Regions from separate parts of the Homo sapiens genome. Here all the other regions are linked to region 2. Evidence: promoter capture Hi-C in 16 types of primary human blood cells and fetal thymus (Javierre and others, 2016). All regions are on one chromosome and are shown on one strand. The core of a region is centred on a gene start or on the middle of the fragment in contact, and the rest is flanking DNA. Distances in the headings are between cores, read along the strand shown.

Region 1 (2,725 bases), core at 30-2,529, 110 kb after region 2:
GACTTTGGGAGGCCAAGAAGGTTGGATTGCTTGAAGCCAGGAGTTCGAGACAAGGCTGGCCAACATGGTGAAACCCTGTCTCTACTAAAAATACAAAAATCAGTTGGATGTGGTGGTGCATGCCTGTAATCCCAGCTACTCAGGTGCCTGAGGCAGGAGAATTGCTTGAACCTGGGAGGCAGAGGTTGCAGTGAGCCGAGACTGCATCACAGCACTCCAGCATGGGCAACAGTGAGAGACCCTGTCTCAAAAATAAATGAATAAACAAAAATAAAGAAAAGCTGTGGGACATGCTAGTTTTGTGTGTTTTTTTTTTTTTTTCTCCAGGAGCGACTCCTACAGATATTTTCCTATTTTTTGGTGATATTTTACCAGAAAAAAACAAAAAACAAAATAAAATCTCTCTTGTTTTTCTGTGAATAAATTTTATCATGCTTTTTCATTTTAACAGTACTTTTCACAAACTTATACATGTTTTACATTATGGAGTAGATGAGACTTTATCCTGCCATTGACTCTGATGTCCACAAAGCTATATTTTGAGGCCCAAGCACAGTCCTTGCTCTATCACATTTGTGCTCCAGGAAGTTAATGAGGTTTAGGAACTAATATTCTGTAAAAGAGGTCAGGGAGCTTTTCTTCAAATTTTAGATCTGCTAACAGCTTTGTGATTCTCTGCCTAGGTTTCCACAATTGCCAGGCTAGACAGGGGAAACTGATTGTAGTGGTCTGTTCTTATGTGGCTAATAAAGACATACCCAAGACTGGGTAATTTATAAAGAAAAGAGGTTTAATTGACTCACAGTTCTACATGGCTGGGGAGGCCTCACAATCATGGTGGAAGGTGAGTGAGGAGCAAAGTCATGTCTTACATGGTGGCAGGCAAGAGAGCTTGTGCAGGGGAACTCCCCTTTATAAAACCATCAGATCTCATGAGATTTATTCACTACCATGAAAACAGTTTGGGGGAAACTTCCCCCATGATTAAATTATTTCCACCTGGTCCTACTCTTGACGTGTGGGTATTACTACAATTCAAGGTGAGAATTTGGTGGCGACACAGCCAAACCCTATCATTCTTACCCTGGTCCCTCCCAAATCTCATGTCCTCACATTTTAAAACCAATCATGCCTTTCCAACTGTGCCCCTAAATCTTAGCTCATTTCTGCATTAACCCGAAAGTCCACAGTCCAAAGTCTCATGTGAGACAAGACAAGTTCCTTCTGCCTATGAGCCCGTAAAATCAAAAGCAAGTTAGTTACTTCCTAGATCCAATGGGTACGGGCATTGAGTAAATACACCTAGGGTACAGGTATTGAGTAAATACACGGGTTACAAATGGTAGAAATTCGCCAAACGGGGGCTACAGGCCCCATGCAAGTCTGAAATCCAGTGGGGTAGTCAAATCTTAAAGCTCCAAAATGATCTCCTTTCACTCCATGTCTCACATCCAGGTCTCTGATCTTAACTATTCTTCAAAAGACTAATGAGGAATCTGCAAAACTGAGCTAACTCCACACTTATCCAGTGTGGCTGGGAAAGCGGTTGCTAAAGTTTGGATGTTTGTCTTTCCAACCCTCATGTTGAAATTTGATCCCCAGTGTTGGAGGTGGGGCCTAATGGGAGGTGGTTGGGTCATAGGGGTGGACCCCTCATGAATACATTATTGCCCTACCTGAAGTTGGGGATGGTGAGTAAGTTCGCTCTTAGTTCCTGAGGGAGCTGGTTGCTAACAGGAGCCTGGCACCTCCCCACTCTCTCTCTTGCTTCCTCTCTTTCCATGTGATCTCTGCACATGCCAGCTCCCCTTCACCTTCCTCCATGAGTGGAAGCAGCCTGAGGCCCTCATCAGAAGCAGATGTTGGTGCCACACTTCTTGTATAGCCTGCAGAACTGTGAGCCAAATATGCCTTTCTTCTTTATACATTACCCAGTCTCAGGCACGCCTTTATAGCAATGCAAAATGCACTGAGACAGTGGTGTTCTGCTTAATGATGGTAGAAGTATATTCCTGTTTCATATTGCTTATTTATTGTTCAGAGACTGCTTAATCTTCGCCAAATTAATTTTTCTTCCTCCAGAGTATACAACTAGATGACATTTTCCAGTCTCCTTTGTAATTAGGCATAATTTGAGCACTGGCCAGTGAGACATGACAGACGTAATATGCATCACTTCAAACCTGGTCTAGTACCCTCCAATGACCACATCTCACATGCTCTTTTCTCTTCTGAATGGGTGCAACGAAGACACCTTTAGTGTGACCTTGGAGACCACATTTGAACATGGTGAAGCCAAAGGATGGAATGGTCCTCAAATCACTCAGAGAAAAGACGCCTGACCAGGAAGACCCCAAGTGGACTCTTACACAAGCGAAATATAAGATAATGCTGTTTTAATCCACTGGGATTTTAGAGTTTGTAAGTTATATAATAGTTAGAATTACTATAACTAATACACATTAAATATCCTTTCAAAGAATTAAAATGGCATAAAATATACTTTACAATTGAATGAAAATTTCATTTTTTGTAGATTTAAAGTATATTACAGTCTTTCGCTCAGGGTTATCACTTGTTTGTTTTGTTTGTTTATTTTGTTTTTGAGACAGATTCTCACTCTGTCGCCCAGGCTGGAGTGCAGTGGTGCCATCTCAGCTCACTGCAACCTCTGCCTCCCAGGTTCAAGCAATTCTCCTACCTCAGCCTCCCGAGTAGCTAGGAT
Region 2 (2,700 bases), core at 88-2,587:
GAAGGTTGGAGGAAAAAGAGGTCGCATCTGATAATATTGATCAGACTCAAAGAAGATGCGTGCCTCATGCCCTCCTGTCTGGTGCCCAGAGGTGGCAGCTGCTCAGAGGTCACTAGGTCACCATGGCAGAAGCACCGATGACCTGAATGCCTGTGGTAATGAATTCTTCCTTAGTCTTGCCTAAGACGTAAACTCAGCTGGGCGAACACCTTGATTTCAGTGTTGAGACCCTGAACAGGGAACCTTGTTGTAAGCTGCTAAGTTTGTGGTGATTTGCTATGCAGAATGGGGCCACAACAGGCAGCTTCGAGGCAAGTTATACAAAAATGAAATGACTGATCTTGCTCGCCTGAATACGATGGATTAAAAATATTATACACACTTTACATGTAAATGAGCAATGTATTGTCTCACACATAAGAAATCCTAGTTCTACTTGGGTTGTGGATTTTCTCCCCTCATTGCTGTAGGGGCCTTTCTTGCCTTCGTCCCTCCAAGGGAATATTCAGCACCTGCCATACCTCTTCTGAGCACACTGTCTTTTCTCGACAGCCCAGGTGAGGTACATTCCTGGTGCTCCCCAATCTATTCATATCAAGGCTGTACCCAGCTTTATCAAGGAAGACAATGTCCCTATAGGGCCAGGAAACAAGATCCCTCCCACCTTCTTTCAGACATTTTCTATGAACTTCTCCGAGGCCTTGGGGCCACGGCCTCATTAAAAGGACTGTTCTCTGGAGGCTCAGCAACGGAGGTCCTATCGGTACCCAGGATGACAACAGGAGAAAGTGATCAGCCGGTCATAAGGATTTCAAAAAAAAAAAAAAAAAAGAATATCTAAAAGTACTTATTAGAAATGAGAGTCACCAAATGTTTTACTTCAGGTATATCTATTATTTCATAGGTAATATGTAACTTCCTGAGAATCAAGACTGTAGGTCAGACCCAAATGAAGCAGTGATAACCCCGGGCTAAGAGCCCTCAGTTTACGGTGATTTTCTGAGTAGAAGGTATCATTCCTATGTTTAATATTCCTTCCTCATCCTGACTCAACAGCTATTCCATAGCATTAGGATATTTTGAGTCAAGGAAGTTCACAGTCTACACTCATTGAATTGAATGATATTGGTGAGGGGACCTACAGGAAGTCTTTCCTTGTAATGCTCAGGAATAAACAGGTGGTGGGAACAGAGATCCTTGTCAGCCCAGTGACCTTCGCACTTTATAAGTAATCCCAGGCAAGAGTTCTAGGAATGCAGCCTGCATGAGGGCTCAGGGCATGGTCAGATAGGGGCAGACCAGGGGCAGGTGCCTGGCTCCTCTCTGGGGTCAGAGCAGGCTCCCTCCCTGCCAGGTTGTGGGTGCAACATTCAGGGAATGGTTACTGAAGTGTTCCAGGCACCAGAGCTCAGGCAAGAAGTGGAAAACTGCGCAAGATCCTGCACGTGGGTACCATCAGTGCCTTTGTGGGGAAGTTACATCTGTGTGTATGTATATATACTTAGTATATATATACGATATACTTAGTGTACTTATATCGTGTATATATACTATGTACTTAGTATACTTACTTATATACAATGTACATATACTTAGTGTATATATACATTGCATGTTGAACTTACTATATATATACACACACACTACACACACACACTAATTGGTCCGCTAATTGGCTGTTGCATTTTGAACTTGGTATGTGTGTATATATACATGTGTGTGAGTATATATACACACATATATACGTATGTATATACATATCATATACATACATGTGTATAGATATGTGTGTATATATGTATATGTGTGTATATGTATATGTGTTTATATATGTATATATGTATTTATGTATATATACACACACACTAAATTCAATAGATATATATGCGTGTGTGTATATACACACACACACACACACACACACACACACACTGAGTTCAAAATGCAAGAGCCAATTAGTGGGCCAATATGAGAATTAAAAAAGAAAAAAATGTACAGCAAATTGAATAGGACGTATCAGAATGCATACCACATAATGACAATCAATATCACTTCATTAAATTTTTGCTCGACATACACACACGTATAAAATTATGTCTATAGTCATGATGTACGTACAATGTATTTTGTGTTGAATAATGTTGGAAAGCCACTGCAGTGGATATTTTGACATCTTTTATTAATATTTAAAAGAAGAGGGTGAAACAAAAAATGTGAAAAAAGACAAAAAAGTTTGACAGTACTGAATTTAGGAGAAATTGAAGGTTAGTTCTAGGAAATTTGCCTTCTTCCCCCTAGTTATGGCAAAAAATAACTTTTCTGGGGTTATAAGTCTGTGAAATATATAGGTAAATTTAAAAAATTTAAAAATGTGTAAATATCCAGTGTGAAATACATGTGAGATTGCTTACAGAAACGGACAAGGCCAATATACATGTGAGGCTTCTGGTTATAATGAATTCCAAGGAGATAAACTCATTTCATGTCCTCTGAGCCAACCGGGCAGTACCTACTTGGGAAAAATGTTTGAGGGCTCTCGATTTTTAAACCTGCTGAACCAATTAAAAGCGTATAAATTTTTCTAGAAGTCTAAATTAATTCTACGTCTATAATAATAATTATTTTTTTAAGTGATGATATGGGAAAAACCCAAAATATCTTTGCAACATACAGCCGTGCGTTTTTTCTCAGACCAACTAT
Region 3 (2,700 bases), core at 37-2,536, 92 kb after region 2:
GCCTTTGGATTAAAAATAGACTTCAGAGGCCGGGTGCGGTGGCTCACGCCTGTAATCCCAGCACTTTGGGAGGCCGAGGCGGGCGGATCACGTGGTCAGGAGATCGAGACCATCCTGGCTAACATGGTGAAACCCCTTCTCTACTAAAAATACAAAAAAACTAGCCGGGTGTGGTGGCGGGTGCCTGTAGTCCCAGCTACTCGGGAGGCTGAGGCAGGAGAATGGTGTGAACCCGGGAGGCGGAGCTTGCAGTGAGCCGAGATTGCGCCAATGCACTCCAGCCTGGGTGACAGAGCAAGACTCTGTCTCAAAAAAAAAAAAAAAAAATGGACTTCAGAGTCAAAGACCCAGACTTTGACAGGGTGAGGGAAATATCAACTCACCAACTTCTTCATTTCTTCCTTTTGTAAAAAGTAACATGCAGTGCTTAAGTGGGAACTTGACAAGACTTTACAAGTAGGAAAAAGCAGTATTCTAAATAGGCCTTTTCAATAACTGCTTGTCCACTGCACCAATACAAGCAGTCGTTTCTGATGGGTTTTCTAAGAGAGTGCTGATTTAATTCTCACAAACAGTGTATTTCTAGGAAATGCAAGTATTGGGGCAGTTCTTTGGAGGGCTATCACAGAAAGTACAGGAAAAGCCTGAGATTATGAATAAAATCAGTGGTTCACTCGCATTTCCTTCATGATCCACTTCTAGTTATAGGAAGCGGTAGGGCTTATCACGAAGAATTGGTCCAATCGATATGGCAAAAACTATCGCTAGGCATTTTAGGTGGCAAATAAGAGACTCTCATCTTTATTCCGTTAGATTTGATCTCGTACTACAGCTGGGAAAGATCACTCGCACAGGAGTGAAAACAGTTCACACAGCAGGTAATTAAGGCAGGATGAAGCTGTCCCCTTACCCACAGTGTCATTCTAGGGCAAACTCTGTCTCCCTTTGTTCGTATGTCCAACATGAATCTCCACCTTCTCTGTTGCAGATTAATCCTGTCCATAAAATGACCTAGCATTTTATTGAGTGGTATCAGAGCTGTACTGATTTACTCTGCCTGAAGGTCACATACGAGGATAAACAAAAAAAAGTATTGCAATTCCTTTCTGCACATCTGACTTCAGCTACGACTTGTCACAGGGAGCTGGAGAGCTTTCTCTAGGGCTGTCTTCCTCGAACTCCCATGGAATTTGAACTCCCATCAAAACACTGGGACTTTGGGGCTAGTCAGATATGGGGTCAAAACAACCAGTTTTTCAAAAAATAAAAAGGCAGACGATTACCGATAAAGAATTCCAAGGAATTTTGGAATATGTTTCTTTAAAAAACTTCATGTTTTATATAACTAATGAATATTCATTGCAGAACAGCTTGAAACAGAGGGAAGAAAAGAATAATGAGATAATCATAATGACTTATGATGCAGCCACCAAGCAGCAAATTCTTTTATCACTCTGGAATATCCCAGCATTTTGGGATATGTGTGCGTGTGTGTGTGTATGTGTGTGTGTGTGTGTGTGTGTGTGTGCGCAAAGCAAAAACACTCAATTACATGTACTCTCAGTTTCTTACAGCAAATCTGCTTCTCTTCTATATACTAAAAGGTATAAATGAGATTTTTAATGTGATTAAGTTGATGAGCTAAAATTTAACAGAGCATGTAAAGATCAAAGATGAAGTGAGGAAAGCCAGAAACATTTCACTTAAATATCTGAATGCAATGCATGATTACTAAGCCAAAGAAAAACTATTTATCTGGCCTGAGAATGTTATTTAAATCCCAGGCTCATTCATGCTAAACAGAGGCAACATTTTCCATTCACTTCTCCAAGGCTTCTCTTCTGGTGGAAGTAACCCCTCCTTTCATTCCCCCTGTAGCATTCCTATTTATGGGCTTAATGCCCACAATTGAGAAGGATAAGTTTAGAAGGTGTTCATTGCCAAAATGATGATATTTAAATGGTAGGTCAATTTTAAACAAGGTGACTTTTTCAGGTTGTGCCAATCTGTAAACATTATTCTTGCCATAGTACTATAAATGAAAATCCAATAATAAAAAGGCCAGAAGAAGAATTATTTAGAATGATGTATTAAGGAGTTGGAGCTACTTTTCTTTCTCTAATGAAGTAAAAAGAAACTGCATTTTAAAGTTTAAAAAGTCACATAATCTTCCACCTAAATAGGACTTTTATTTCTTTTATGTTCTTATTGTGTTCACAATCAAAACCTGCAGAAGAAAATATTTGTCAAATCATCACATTTTGCTTTTGGATGCAATCATCTAATACCAACCCCAAATAAAGAAATTATATTAATGGAAATTTTCATTATTATCACCATCAAAACTCATGTGGAGCCAGGAACAAGTAGAATATTCTCTGGCTTGGGTGCAGCCTATGGAATGACGGCAGGTACTACTCTCAAAACAGAATGTACGCTTCTTTGGAATTCTTCTGTGAACAGTTTATTAATTTTACGCCTTGAAAGGTAATGGAAGTACACCTAGTATTGCCAGATACTCTATCTCTTCTTCCAGCATTTCTCCTTATTGGCCAGCATTGCCTATTCTGAACAACTAAAAGAAATTAAAAAGTTAAAATGTACCTCTTTTTTAGAAAGCAGAGATAGCATGCAGGTATGTGTATGTTTTCTACAATATCTACAATATGTGCGTTTCTCAAAGCGAACACAGTAACTTTC

Evidence for each region. Contacts are between HindIII fragments. The CHiCAGO score rates a contact against its expected background, and 5 or more counts as called.
Region 1: a fragment that was not itself captured here is called in contact with the fragment with the promoter of CHRM3-AS1 in region 2 in 5 of 17 cell types (monocytes, M2 macrophages, M0 macrophages and 2 more); the score reaches 16.7 in monocytes.
Region 3: a fragment that was not itself captured here is called in contact with the fragment with the promoter of CHRM3-AS1 in region 2 in 1 of 17 cell types (monocytes); the score reaches 8.1 in monocytes.

The regions. Positions count from the first base shown.
Region 1 is chr1:239,788,646-239,791,370 of GRCh38, reverse strand. The region is part of intron 5 of CHRM3 (cholinergic receptor muscarinic 3); the gene reads right to left. Among named protein-coding and RNA genes, the nearest start is that of CHRM3-AS2, 71 kb to the right of the region's middle. The HindIII fragment of the contact is 5,345 bases long and covers 1-2,725 here.
Region 2 is chr1:239,898,509-239,901,208 of GRCh38, reverse strand. CHRM3-AS1 (CHRM3 antisense RNA 1) reads left to right here and starts at 1,337. Exons shown (of 2, transcript NR_046582.1): 1 at 1,337-1,445. All of the region lies in intron 6 of CHRM3 (cholinergic receptor muscarinic 3), which reads right to left. The HindIII fragment of the contact is 7,774 bases long and covers 1-2,700 here.
Region 3 is chr1:239,806,647-239,809,346 of GRCh38, reverse strand. The region is part of intron 5 of CHRM3 (cholinergic receptor muscarinic 3); the gene reads right to left. Among named protein-coding and RNA genes, the nearest start is that of CHRM3-AS2, 89 kb to the right of the region's middle. The HindIII fragment of the contact is 4,094 bases long and covers 1-2,700 here.